3 separate regions of the Homo sapiens genome follow, and all the other regions are linked to region 3. Evidence: promoter capture Hi-C in 16 types of primary human blood cells and fetal thymus (Javierre and others, 2016). All regions are on one chromosome and are shown on one strand. Each heading gives the region's core, a stretch centred on a gene start or on the middle of the fragment in contact. The rest is flanking DNA. Distances are from core to core; before and after follow the strand shown.

What was found. Contacts are between HindIII fragments. The CHiCAGO score rates a contact against its expected background, and 5 or more counts as called.
Region 1: a contact is called between a fragment that was not itself captured here and the fragment with the promoter of MERTK in region 3, in 3 of 17 cell types (erythroblasts, endothelial precursors and megakaryocytes). The highest score is 5.9, in erythroblasts.
Region 2: a fragment that was not itself captured here is called in contact with the fragment with the promoter of MERTK in region 3 in 1 of 17 cell types (megakaryocytes); the score reaches 6.3 in megakaryocytes.

What each region holds. Positions count from the first base shown.
Region 1 is chr2:112,449,195-112,453,984 of GRCh38, reverse strand. No RefSeq gene overlaps it. Among named protein-coding and RNA genes, the nearest start is that of RGPD8, 18 kb to the right of the region's middle. The HindIII fragment of the contact is 1,664 bases long and covers 606-2,269 here.
Region 2 is chr2:112,542,054-112,546,469 of GRCh38, reverse strand. POLR1B (RNA polymerase I subunit B) reads right to left here and starts at 4,005. Exons shown (of 15, transcript NM_019014.6): 1 at 3,799-4,005. The coding sequence starts at 3,975. It overlaps LOC105373562 (a long non-coding RNA gene), which reads left to right and starts at 4,258. Exons shown (of 2, transcript NR_136321.1): 1 at 4,258-4,267; 2 at 4,392-4,416. RefSeq lists an enhancer at 3,973-4,122. The HindIII fragment of the contact is 2,917 bases long and covers 305-3,221 here.
Region 3 is chr2:111,897,357-111,902,037 of GRCh38, reverse strand. MERTK (MER proto-oncogene, tyrosine kinase) reads right to left here and starts at 3,431. Exons shown (of 19, transcript NM_006343.3): 1 at 3,242-3,431. The coding sequence starts at 3,302. RefSeq lists an enhancer at 3,963-4,292. The HindIII fragment of the contact is 4,607 bases long and covers 1,268-4,681 here.

The DNA of each region.
Region 1 (4,790 bases), core at 188-2,687, 550 kb before region 3:
GTTGGCTTCCCTGGTTTTGAGGCCTTCTGACTTGGACTGAGCCACTACTGATTCTCTCTTTCCCCAGCTTGCAGACAGTCACCTTGTAATCATGTGAGGCAGTTTTCCCTAATAAACTCCTGTAGATAGATAGATAGATAGAGATATAGATATAGGAGAGAGATATATATACACACACATACATATATGTGATATATGATATATCACATATATCATATAGGATATATCTATATATCCTATACATCCTATACATCTATATATCCTATACATCCTATATATCCTATACAAATATATAGGATATATCTATGTATCCTAGGATATATAGATATATAGATACATATATATAGATATATAGATATATCCTAGGATACATAGATATATATCTATGTATCTATATATCCTATACATCCTATTTGATAGGATGTATAGGATATATATAGGATATATCCGTATATCCTATACATCCTATTTGTTCTCCCCCTCTGGAGAACTCCAATACAGAAGCCTTCTCAAGGTGGGGGCATCTTTTACATAACACAAGATTTAACACCTGCAATGAGCCCCACAAGAAAGCTCTAATATACCGCTGCAAAGCTTCAGAAGCTTGGAAAAATCAATGGCCCACATTAAATGAAGCAGAGATGCCAGAACTATGGACAAAGAGTTCAAAAAGACACTCCATTTATCAGAGCTAAGAAGGCACTGGTGGGAGGGCAGCAGCATCAATGAGAGGCACGGTAGCAAATGTCTTCTGAAGGTCAAGAAGAATGGTGGGGATGCTGTTACAGAACTGGACTTCCTGTTAGCAATGGGGAGCATAGGATCCCAGCACAGTAAGGGCCATATGACAGCTCCTAAATGTCAGGAGGAAGGTGAGCATCATTACTGTACTAGACAGCAAGGTTGGAATCACAGTCAGAAAGATGTCTCTTGTTTATGTAAACTTGTCTGGTAATATCAACATGATAATTTATTTAATAAGCTATCATTTTCTCATTAAATTGAAATACTGTGCCATTGTCTTACATTAAATTCTGAAATGTGCTTGATTTATCTCTGGATTCTGTAGTCTGAATATCCTTGGGTCAGTTCAATAGTGGGCTGATTGTAGTGTTTTTTTTAGGAGATTCAACTACCTAAAAATGATTAAGTATAGGAACTTACATAAGATAGGTTTATTTCTCTGAAAATCCAAAGCTGGCAGGATGTCCAAGTGATGTAGGCTGCTGCAACCTATGAGTTAATTCAAGGAGCCAAATTCTTTTTTGTTTTCGTAGCCATCCCTTAGGGTGTTACCTGCATAGTCTCACTATACCTATGTTCCAGCCCATGGTATGAGAGAAAAATGGGGGAGAGAAACAAAATCCTTTTTAAGGGCATAACCCCAAAGTCACATGACTTTATTCCATATGTGTGCCTTTAGTCAGAATGTAGTCACACTACCAATCTAGCTAAAAAGGAGTCCAGAGAACGTAATCTCTGACAGGTTGGCCTATTCTTAGATAAAACTAATGGGAAGAAGAGAAATGGACACAGGAAGTTGGTAATGAGCCTTCAAGATGGCCCCCAATAATCCCTGACACCTAGTATTTACAATCTTGTGTAGTCCCCTCCCATGTTACACTAAGTTTAATCTGTGTGTCCAACATCATAGGCAAGAGTGATAGCATGTCACGTCTGAGAATAGATTACAAAAAGACGACAGCCAGTCTTGAGATCTCTCTCTGACCACTTGCTCTGGGGGAAGCCAGTTGCTATGTTGTGAGGTAGCCCTGTGGAGAAACCTATATGGAAAGAACTGAGTGTCTGGCCTCCCAACAACCATACAGTGAGCTTGGAAGTGGATTCTCCAGCCTCAGTCAGGCCTTGAGATGTTGCAGCTCAGGCGGATAGCTTGACTACACCCTCGTGAGACACTCTGAGCCAGAACCACCCAGCTAAGCTGCAGGTGGATTCCTGATCCTCAGAAACTGAGGTAATAAATGCTTGTTATTTTAAGCTGCTATGTTTGAGGGTAATTATTACACACTCTGTTGCTGCATAACGAATTGCTCCAGAGCTTAGTGGCTTAAAACCCCTACGTTTATTAGCTCATAGATTCTTTGAGTCAGGAATCTGGACATAACGTAGCTGGATCCTTGGGCTCTGGTTGCAGTCAAGGTGTCAGCAGGGCTGCAGTTACCTTCAGGCTTGATTAGGGATAGATCAGCTTCCAAGCACTCTCACATGGTTGTTGGCCAGTTTCTACATGGGTTATTAGACTAAAGCTTCAATTCCTCAAAAGCTGTTGGCTGGAAGCCTCTCTTGGTTCCTTACTACATAGGCTTTTCCATTGGGCAGTTTACAACATGCCTGCTGGCCTCACTACAGTGAGCAAGAAAGAGGGTAAGAGATGGTAAGCAAGAAAAAAGCCACAGTCTTTTGTAACTTAATCTTTGAAGTAATATTGTCAGAGGTGTTTGAACCAGAGCGACTCCATATTGAATAGGGGCTGGGTAAAATTAGGCTGAGACCTATTGGGGTGCATTCCCAGGAGGTTAGGCATTCTTAGTCATAGGATGACATAGGAGATCAGCACAAAGTACAAAGACCTTGCTGATAAAACAGTTTGCAGTAAAGAAGCCAGCCAAAACCTACCAAACCCAAGATGGCAATGAAAGTGACCTCTGGTCATTCTCACTGCTCGTTATCCACGAATTATAATGCGTTAGCATGCTAGAAGACATTCCCATCAGTGCCATGACAGTTTACAAATGCCTTAGCAATGTCTGGAAGTTACCCTGCATGGTCTAAAAAGGGGAGGAAACCTCAGTTCTGGGAATTGTCCTCCCCTTTCCTGGAAAACTCATGAATAATCCACCCCTTGTTTAGCATATAATCAAGAAAGAACCGTAAGTGTTCTTAGTCGAGCAGCCCACACCACTGCTCTGCCTATGGAGTAGCCATTCTTTTATTCCTTTACTTTCTTAATAAGCTTGCTGTCACTTTACTCTATGAATTCACTTTGAACTCTTTTTTTGTGTGAGATCCAAGAACCTTCTCTTGGGGTCTGGATCGGGACCCCTTTCCAGTAATAATATTCCATCACTTTTTCCATATTCTATTCATGAAAAGCAAGCAACAGGTCCAGGCCACACTTAAGGGGAGGGGATTACACAAGAGGTTGAATACCAGGAAGTGGAGATCACTGGAGACCATCCTAGGAAGCTGCCTACCATAGTCTGCTCTCTGGTCCCCAGTGATTCACATCCCTCCCTCATGGCAAATACATCTACAACTCTCCAAGAGTCCCCAGAGCCTCACCTCATAACATCAGCTCTAAGTCCAGAATCCCATCATCTAAATCAGGTCCAGGTATGGTTGAGATACATCAGGTGTAGTTCCCCAAGTACAGCTCCTTAAGCACAGTTCCAATTGATCTGTGGATTTCTGAAGCTAAAGAGACGAGATACCTGCCCACCTCCCACACCCAATGTATTAGTCTGTTCTCATGCTGCTAATAAAGACATACCTGAGACTGGGTAATTTACAAAGGAAAGACGTTTAATTGACTCACAGTTCCACAGGGCTGGGGAGGCCTTACAATCATGGTGGAAGGCAAGCGGGGGGAGTAAATCCACGTCTTAAATGGTGACAGACAAAGAGAGAATGAGAGCCAAGTGAAAGGGGAAACCCGTTATAAAACCGTCAGATCTCATGTGACTTATTCACTACCACCAGAACAGCATAGGGGAAATTGCCCCCATGATTCAATTATCTCCCACTGGGTCCCTCTCACAACATATAGGTATTACGGGAGCTACAATTCAAGACAAGATTTGCTTGGGAAAATAGCCAAACCATATCACCCAATATACGATGGTGGGACAGGCACAAGATAATCTCTACACACAAAAAAGGGGCAAATAGGAGGCACACAGGTGTTACTGGTCCATAGCAATTCTGAAATCCAAATTTTAGAACTCAGTCTCATTCCTGCTAAAAATAATTCTCCATGGCTCTTGGCTCCATCCTCTGGACTCCTTATTTTTGCCCTCTGAATCATCCTTTTTTTTTGGAGACACAGTCTCACTCTGTCACCCAGGCTGGAGTGTAGTGGCGCAATCTCGGGCTCACTGCAACCTCCACCTCCCGGGTTCGAGTGATTCTCCTGCCTCAGCATCCCGAGTAGCTGGGACTACAGGCTCCCACCACCATGCCTGGGTGATTTTTGTATTTTTAGTAGAGACGGGGTTTCACCATGTTGGCCAGGCTGGTCTTGAGCTCTTGACCTCAAGCGATCTGCCCTCTTCAGCCTCCCAAAGTGCTGGGATTACAGGTGTGAGCCACTGTGCCCGGACTTTTTTTTTTTTTTTTTAAAGAAAAGGTAGCATCTGTTTTCTCAGCCTGCTTCCTGCTAGAATTTTGGAGGTCCAACAATTCCTTTTTATGTTGTACTGGGTCTGCCTTTTCCACTCCAAACTGACACACAGATTTCTCAGGAAATTTGTGGGTCTTTTTGTTTGCTTGCATAATGTGTTAACTACATTAGACGAAACCCTACAAATCTCTCTGGATAAACCCTTCACTATCTTGAGCTTCTGCTGAGAGGCTGAGGAAAAATACTCTTAAGCTCCCTAGAGGTTTAATTGTTTGAGACAATCTGAGAGCAACACCTTTAATCTCTTTAAAGGGACCTTTGTGTGACTGAATATGACTGTGATCCTTTGGTCTCTCTGAGATTTTAACATTAGATTGTATATACATAGAAATAGGTAACTAATGCAGGCAGCGTTTAGCATTCTCCACTA
Region 2 (4,416 bases), core at 514-3,013, 650 kb before region 3:
TGACCACATGTGTCAGAGACTGTAGTAGGCTCTAGGGATACAGCTGTGAACAGAACAAAATTCCTGTTCTCTGAACCAAGAGCCTTGTGTATTCTTAACTTGTCTATGTGCATAGCAAGACAAATGGGACTACTGCTAATAGAGCAAGGATACGGAAACATCCTTTAGGATTTAAGACTAGATGCTTAATGTACAATGGCAACGTCAAACTGAAGCCAGAGCCATGCAAAGGAAAAGATGGTGGCCAGGCTGGGTTTCCCCTTCCACAGAAGTTACTTCTTTGTACCATTCTGTAGGGGAAGCTTTGCTGTTCTGAGGAAGGGGCATCACCAAGCTCTCCTATATATTAATTACAAGCAACCTCCTAGACTTAGTCTTAGAATAATGAAAATGAAAAAATGGAACCAAGAAAGAATACCAAGGAGGTTCTCCACCTTCACGTGAGTTAACTTACCTTTTCTAAATTTTAAAATGTTATCTAAAGCTGGTATTATTTTAGAAATTCATATTTTATTTAAAAATAAAAGCCAGATGCAGTGGCTTATACCTGTAATCCCAATATTTGGGAGACCGAGAGAGGAGGACTACTTGAGCTCAGGAGTTTGAGACCAGGCTGGGCCACATAGGGAGACCCCGTCTCTACAAAAAATAAAAATAAAAAAATTAGCCGGGCATAGTGGTGCACGCCTGTGGTCCCAGCTACTCAAGAGGTTGACGTGGGAGGATCACTTGATCCTGGAAGGTCGAGGCTGCAGTGAGCTATAACCATGCCACTGCATTCCAGCCTAGGTGACAAAGTGAGATCCTGTCTCAAAAAAAAAAACAGAATGAAGTTAAAAAAAGAGAGATTAGACAATTTGCTTTCTCAAGACGCAGCTGCACTATTTAGAAGGAAATACAGTGAACTGTCATTATTCATAATAGTTATGTTCTATACAGTTGCCATAAACACTGAATTAGCCAATACTGAACCACTGCTCCTAGGGTAAATACATGGTTAGCTTCCTGCGAGCCTCTGGTCACATTTCATCAACTGATCAACACACAATCTTGTATTATGTGTGTTTCTGTTTAAGGACAGCTTATTTAATACATATTATTGAGTCCGTAACTCATGCCTGAACAAAGCCTATGATTTCATCCACTGATCAATACACAACCTTGCATTATGTGGGTTTCTGTTTAAGGACAGCTTATCTAATATATATTATTGAGTCCCTAACGCATGCCTGAACAAAGCCTATGTTAAATGCATGTATTAATATTTTCCCCTAAAGGCACAGCACAGCCTTCTTGTGCTTAGGAACTTTATACAGAACTTTAATACTTTAATACTTTGCTTGGGGGACATTTTAAACAGCAAAATCACCAACAAAAAGCACAAAACACGGCACTAAATAGATAGTGAAGACAACCTCTGTTTATAGTTTAAGAACTTAAAACAAGAAGGCCGAGCATCACCTTGTTAGATCTCAGCTGGGAAAATGGACACTGAGCAACTCAACTTTTTTGCTGCTTCTGGGCATGGTGCTTTTGGAGTAGAAGTAAATTTTAGTGAGTAGGTGAATTTGCAAATATGGAATCCCCAAGTAATAAAAATCAATTGTATTTTGAAAAGACAGACACATAAATTCTGACTCACAGAAAGGAGGAATTCACTCCAAAGAAACTTGGCAAAATTATGTTTTGTAAGTAAAAAATATGATAACTATTTTTTCCCTTGGCTTTATAAGTATTAGTTATTTATGTTACTGTGTTTTACAGAACTTTTTCAAATACTATATTATTATAGTCCTAGCTAAGTTGTGGCATCATTTTCTATGCAGGGCCAAATTTTCTTCATCTACTTCAACCAAAACAATTATCACAAGGGACTGAATGCACAAGCAGACATGAGAATCCAGCTGTCTTTTCATTAAGCCAGACATTAAAAAGATTTTTAATAATGCAATTCATCTAACTTCTTTTTTGCTTTGGAAAATATTTTTCTTAAAAATGTTAACATATAATTGGTTTATTTATTTATGTATTTATTTTTTTGGGAGAGTCTCACTCTGTCACCCAGGCTGGAATGCAGTGGTGCAATCTTGGCTCACTGCAACCTCCGCCTCCCAGGTTCAAGCGATTCTCGTGCCTCAGCCTCCTGAGTAGCTGGGATTACAGACATGTGCCACCATGCCCGGCTAATTTTTGTATTTTTTAGTAGAGATGGGGTTTCACCAGGTTGGCCAGGCTGGTCTGGAACTCCTGACCTCAAGTGATCCACCCGCCTTGACCTCCCAAAGTGCAGGGATTACAGTCAAGAGCCACCACACCCAGCCGACTGGCTTATTTTTAAATTAGTGCTTTTCTAAAATTTCTCAATTGGATTTTTTTTTTTTAAAGACAGGTCTCACTCTGTTACCGAGGATGGAGTGCAGCGGCACAATCATAGCTCATTGCAGCCTCAAATTCCTGGGTTCAACTTATCCTCCCACCTCAGCCTCCCGAGTAGCTGGGACCAGCTACTTGGGTGCGCACCACCATGCCCCACTAATTTTTAAATTTTTGTGGAGATGGGGTTTCACTATGTTATCCAAGCTGGTCTTGAAATCCTGGGCTCAAGTCATCCTTCTGCCTTGGCCTCCCAAAGTCCTGGATTACAGGTGTGAGCCACTGCACCCAGCCCGATTAACTTTTAATTAGGAATTTTTTCTCACAGACATGATACTGTAACAATCCAGGCACAATACAAATAACCCCCACCCCTCTAGTCTTTCTAAACAATAAATCTTAATGGCTCCCATATTATTTGCCGAATAGAGTTCAAGAATCAGACTGGCAATCAAAGCTCTCCACATTATCTGTATCCCTATCTCCCACAACACAAATCTTACCCAACAAAACCACAGGTAGGGTCCCCGAAGCATGTGACTCTGCTCTACTCTTCCCCTGGACGAAATGCACGTTTCTCACTTCTTGAACTCATCTAATCCTGCCCTTTCTCAAACTCCTGGATTAGTTGCGCCGCCCATAGGCTCCCGCAGTAGCCCACACAATCCCTTGGCAGAGCAGTTCTCAAGAACATTGGCATGCACTGCTTTCATTATCTTCACCCCTTCAACCCCCAAACACGACAGGGAGCACTTAAATGCATGAACTGTCTCGTACACGGGACTGCCTCCTCCACATCCTCTGAGCCTAGTGCCTGGAGACACTGGGGATGCTTACTAAACGAAGCTTTCCCCCACCATACTCACTTGAATTCTGCTACCATTACTCTACGCTAATAATGCAATTACACTTTTCGATTCAATCTTGCTTTCATGACTCATTTATACCTTCCTCGGCACCTGCTTAATTCATAACAAATGACGAGTAGTTTCTCTCTTTAAAGCTCTAAGAGAAGGAAACTGAAGGATAACCTTGAACATTACACTGTACCTACAAATACGTTCGGGATCTTTCGAGGTACGTTTTGGAGAGGTAAGTCTTCAAGTGATATAAAGCCGTGTGCATTGTGAAGCACATCCCCAGATAAGCCACTTCCTCACTCTCACAGCACCCCGAAACTGTCCAAACTACGGTTCACAATCACTTTTCACTCCAGAATCACGAATACATCTCTTAAGACGCCTCGACTCCAAGTCTCACGAAGGCCAGTACCGCGTCCTGTTTAACATGTTGTGCTCTCCCGCTTACCCACCAAGCCTGTCAGGATCAAGGAGCACATGCATCTGGGGTCATACTGTGACCTCCCAGCCACCTCCCTGGGATTGGCCTCGCCGCGGCAAGGGCGCCGGCGGACGCCGCGCTCACCTGCACCGCGAGGCCGAGACCCTCGTGCACAGCGTAGTTGAAGGACTCCACGTGCGCCCGCGTCAGCTCCTGCAACGCTGCCTTTTGCTGTTCCCGCGGGATTCCATAAGAGGGGTCAGTCAAGTGCTTTAGGCTAGGCCCGCTGGGCAGGTTCCGCCACCGGCTGCCAGGATCCATGTGGCCACCTGCACACCGGACGCCAGTCTCTCGGTACACGCCGGACGCCAGTCTCTCGGTACACGCCGGAAGTAGTGGCCGCAGTCCCGTTTCCGCAGCCTGCTGGGAAATGTAGTTCCCTCTCGTTCCACCCGCCCTAGGCCCTGCGGTTTCGGTTTCTCGGGGTCAACGTAGAACCAAAAACGTCGAGTGAACGGGCCGATTAAGGCCGTGTCCAGCCAGAGCGTGGCGGGCCCTCCCTTTCTCCCATATTCCGCCCCACTCATCTCCCCGCTCGCGAAAGATGCCGCAGGTGGAAACCCGCTCCCCGCCCAGTTGAGCATGTGACCTCTTTGGCTCTCATTGGCTCAGTCAATTAGGATCGGAGGAGAGCGGTCTTCTCAGGCTCTCTTCTGTTTCCCTTCACCTGTTCCCAGTCCCACGCTGATGCCGACCCTGGGG
Region 3 (4,681 bases), core at 2,182-4,681:
GGTGCATGCCTGTAATCCCAGCTACTCAGGAGGCTGAGGCAGGAGAACTGCTTGAACCCGGGAGGCGGGAAGTTGCGGTGAGCCGAGATTGTGCCATTGCACTCTAGCCTGGACAGCAAGAGTGAAACTCTATCTCAAAAACAAAAAAACATAATTATTGTTAATTTTTTAAAAATTGTATTCAGCTGTGCATGGTGGCTCATGCCTATAATCCCCACACTCTGAGAGGCTAAGGTGGGAAGATCGCTTGAGCCCAGGAGTTCAAGACCAGCCTGGGCAACATAGTGAGATCCTGTCTCTACAAAAAATAAAAAATTAGCCAGGCATGGTGGTATGTGCCTGTGGTCATAGCTACTTGGGAGGCTGAGGTGGGAGGATCACTTGAGCCCGGAAGGTTGAGGTTGCAGTGAGCCGTGATGGTGCCACTGCACTCTAGCCTGGGTGGCAGAATGAGAACCTGCCAAAAAAAAAAAAAAAAGAAAGAAAGAAAAGAAAAGAATTCCACTCAGCACTTTAATGGGTCAGAATAATTTTCTAAAAGTATTCATTTTTAAAATATGCACGATGTACTTTCAAAAAGCATTTGAAGCCTTTGGAATAAAGCCCACAAGCAACAGAACAACTTAAAAGTTCCCTCTGGGAAGATGTTTACAATATACTGGAATACATGTTACAATATCAGTTTGGAAAAGAAATATTAACATTAAAGAATCTTAAAAGCCTAATTTACTCTAAGGGTTGAGTTTAGCTGCACACACAGCCTCGTCATGAGCTAAGTCCTCATAATGCATTCATTTTTATCCACATTTATATTTATCTTGCTCCATCCTCTCCCTGGCCCTTCAGAGAGCCACCGCTTGCCTCATTTTGCTGCTCAATGGCACCCCCATCAGAGACTGAGCAGAAAGGAAAGACTGGAAAGCCTCGAAATGCTCCTGGTTTGGCAGTTCCAGTTCTGTGTGTGCATGTCTTTGTGAGACGTGTAGTGTGTATGTGTGTTGGGGGGCAGAGGGGATTTCCTGGGTTAAAGTGATGCTTAAATTTTATTTACCCATTCTTCTATACTGCTAACAGTGTAGAATCTACACACATATTCTCATTGTCTCTCTCTCTGTCTCCCCTGTGTGGTCAGCAAAGCACTCAGACCCACAATGTGTAATAGGAAAATCTTAAAATTAGATGAAGAGTCTAATTTCCATGTTTAATTTCTTCATACAGCACTCCTTTGTGCTGTAATTCTGCCAGTGAGAATCCCATTCTTTAAGCTTTTCACAAGGTGAGATGTAAAACTGTCACACATCTCATAGGTAAAGTTCAAAACCAAAAGCAAAAAGTGCAAGAACGATTGGTGAAACTTTTCATTCTTCCAGCTGGGTGGATTTTAAAAGGCCTTTTTATGATTGTCTGATTAAAGTTGATTGTCAGCTACAAAAATTTGTTATTACAGCCTTTTAAAATTTTAGAAAAACAAAAGCACTCCAATTTTTAAGTATTTAACACAAAACTATTGTTCCCATTACTTTCTCCATAGTTCTCACCACATTCACTACCTCCAAGACTATTCACGGCCAGTCCTCACTAGTAGCAACAAATAACAGATTTGCAGCAGATTATGAAAAATGGGGCTGGCAGAAATGCTGAGGAATTTTTGAAGGTTTGGTGGAGGGAGGGGCAGTGGAGAACAGAACTGCTTTAGTTCTTTGCCTGGCTCTTAAAGTTTGTTTCAAATTGCTATGTTGCCCCAAATTATAAATTGCTTATGTAATTTAACGTGCAAAAAGTGGGTGCACTGTTTAAGAATTTTTCATTTGAGTAAATGAGCTTTCAAAGGAAAATCTCAAAGGAAAAACTTTTAAGTAACTTACTTGACTATAAACTGAGCTTTCCAGGTATTCCTAAAAAACATCTTTGACTGTAATAGGTGAAGGCTAGTCAAGTGCATTCTCGATCAAAAGAGAGAAAATCTACATGCTGAATGGAAATAGAAACCTTTTAGCTGAGAGAAAATACTTGGAATGTGTTTATTTAGCATTTTTCCCCTTTCTTTTTCTTTTGGGTAAAGCCTGGTAAGTTTATTCCAGCCTCCTCAAGAAGTGCATCAGCGATCAAACTTGAAATCTGTTCATCACTCACTCCCCAAATAAGCTGTTCAAGCAGAATGAAACCGGCCTTCCTTGCCTCCACGTATCAGTCCAGCATCTTGTATTAAAATGCCTGGAACAAGCCGGGCGCGGTGGCTCACGACTGTAATCCCAGAACTTTGGGAGGCCAAGGAGAGCAGATCACGAGGTCAAGAGATCGAGACCATCCTGGCCAACATGGTGAAACCCCGTCTCTACTAAAAATACAAAAATTAGCCGGACGTGGTAGCGCGCGTCTATAGTCTCAGCTACTCGGGAGGCTGAGGCAGGAGAATCGCTTGAACCCGGGAGGCGGAGCCTGCAGTGAGCCGAGATCGCGCCGCGGCACTCCAGCCTGGGCGACAGGGCGAGACTCGGTCTCAAATTAAAAAAAAAAAAGCCTGTAACAACACTTCGCTGAATCCAGATAAACGTAAACGCTGCCGAGCACTGTAAGTTCTGTTCTGCCATAACAGGAGTGAAAAGAACGCTCCCCTTTTCCCACACTCTCTGGGTGCCCCTAAAAAGGGATACTAATAATGCCCGTAAGGGCCCATTGGGAGCAGCCAGGACTGCCGTCCCCCCCTGGCCCGTCGCTCGGCCTCAGTCTATCGCGGCTCCCGGACTGCGGCTCCGACTCCCGCAGCCCGTTCGTTCGCCCCGCGCCGGTCCCTCGGGAGACCGGATCTGTGGCCCCCGGGACTCCGGCCAGAGCGGGGCCCCACCATGCAACTCTAGTGGAAAGTTCTCGTCGCATCCCAGACCAGACCTGCTACCTACGTTCCACTCGTCGGAACTTCAGGACTTGCAGCGCGCCCGGCCGAGCTCGATTTCCTCCTCTGCGGTGAAGAGGGGAGCCTGCAACGCCGACCCCGACCCGGCTTCACCACGATGCGCACCCGCAAGCCAGGCTGGGTGCCCTCGGGACGCTTGAGGCGCCGCGGTCAGTGGACGGTAGGTTCGCCTACGCCCCCTCCTCTGGCACCGCAGTGGGTGGAGGGTGTTTGCAAACTTGTCCAGCAGCCAGGCGCGCCCCTGTGGACGCGCTCCCTCCCCAGAGGCCCCTGCTTCCTCCTGGGAGCCCCCACCCCCTCGCCTGGCCCCCAGCCGGGCGCACTCACCTCTACGCCAGAGCGCGGGGAGGAAGAGGCCCAGCAGCAGCGGCAGCGGGGCCGGCCCCATCCCGGGGCTGCGGATCTGTAATTTCTCTCCGGACGGATGGACAGATGGACGTCCCGAACCTGTCCTGTCGCCGGCCAAGCGCGCCAGCGAAGCTCCCTGTCCGGGCGGCCCGGGCAGTGAGTGCCGAGTGGCGGAGCCAAGCGGCCGGCGGGAGGTGCCGAGGGCTGGAAGGGGCGGGCCGGGGGCCGAGCCGAGGCCGGCCGGGGCTGGAGGAGAGGAGCGGGCAGGGGGGCGAGTCCCGGCGGGCCCAGCAGGTTGGGGTGGGAGGGGGCGGGAGGACGAGGGGGAGGAGGGGCGTAAAGGGGAAAGGGAGGGGGTTGGAGAGAAGGGGCGGGCCGAAGGCCGCCGCTGGGCAGACGGCGGGGAAGGGGGCGGAGAGGAAGGGGAGGGGGCTGAGAGACCCGGAGGGAGCCGGAAAGAGAAGTGAAGGGGAGGGGTGGACTGGAGGTCCACAGCGGAAGGCTCTGGCCGCTGCGCGGGTCCGGGGCCCCACACGTGTGGGTGGGAGATGGGGAAGGACAGAAGGTGGGAGAGGAGTAGAGGATGCCCGAGGCAGCCCCCAGACCCAAGAGGAGGGTCCAGAGGCGCCCCCGCATTCCGGGCTTGGCTGACACAGAAAACCCTGGCCGCGCCGCTCCCAGAGGCCAAGGCCAGGGCGGCAGCGCTCCCTGCCGAGCGCTCCTCCACATCCATTCCGCTCGCCGCCGAGCGCCGCCTGGGTACCCGGCCCGAGGTGCGCGACACGGCCCTGGCGGCGAGGAGCTCACCTCCCCAGGGGGAGGGGTTCCTGGGAAAGGACGCTTTGCCGTGGCTCCGTGACGAGCCAGAGAGAGGTGACACTCAAGGAGGGAGATGAACGTGAATGACAAAGTGCAGAGCAGGAGTGGGGAGAGGGGGAACCACAGCACGTCACTCTCATGGGCCTCCACAAGGTGTGCAGGGTCCAAGAGGCAGTAGCAGAGAGTGAGTCGTAAGAGAAATGTAACTACTTACGCTAATAATGGCAACAGTAACTTAATTTATATACGTAGTTTCTTAAAGGTAACACTTTTAGAATGAATGTATTTTAATGTGGTCCCTTTAACAACATAACATAAGCCAAATCATGTCCCTCTCCTCAAATCTCCCTAAACCTATCAGTGGTTCCTGCTGTCTCTGCGTACGTAAGCCAAGGTTCTGCAGTGGTCTACGAGGTTCTACGTGACCTGGTCCCCTTTCCTCTTTGGCCTCATCTCCTTACGCCTCTTCAATTTACGTTGGTCTCGTCAAGCGGTCCCTTGACCCCTACACTGGCTGGACACTTCCCGTAGATTTGGCTACGGGAAGGAGACAGGCAGCCCAGATGGGTTTAGACAGGTTATTACTTACACCGACAGCAA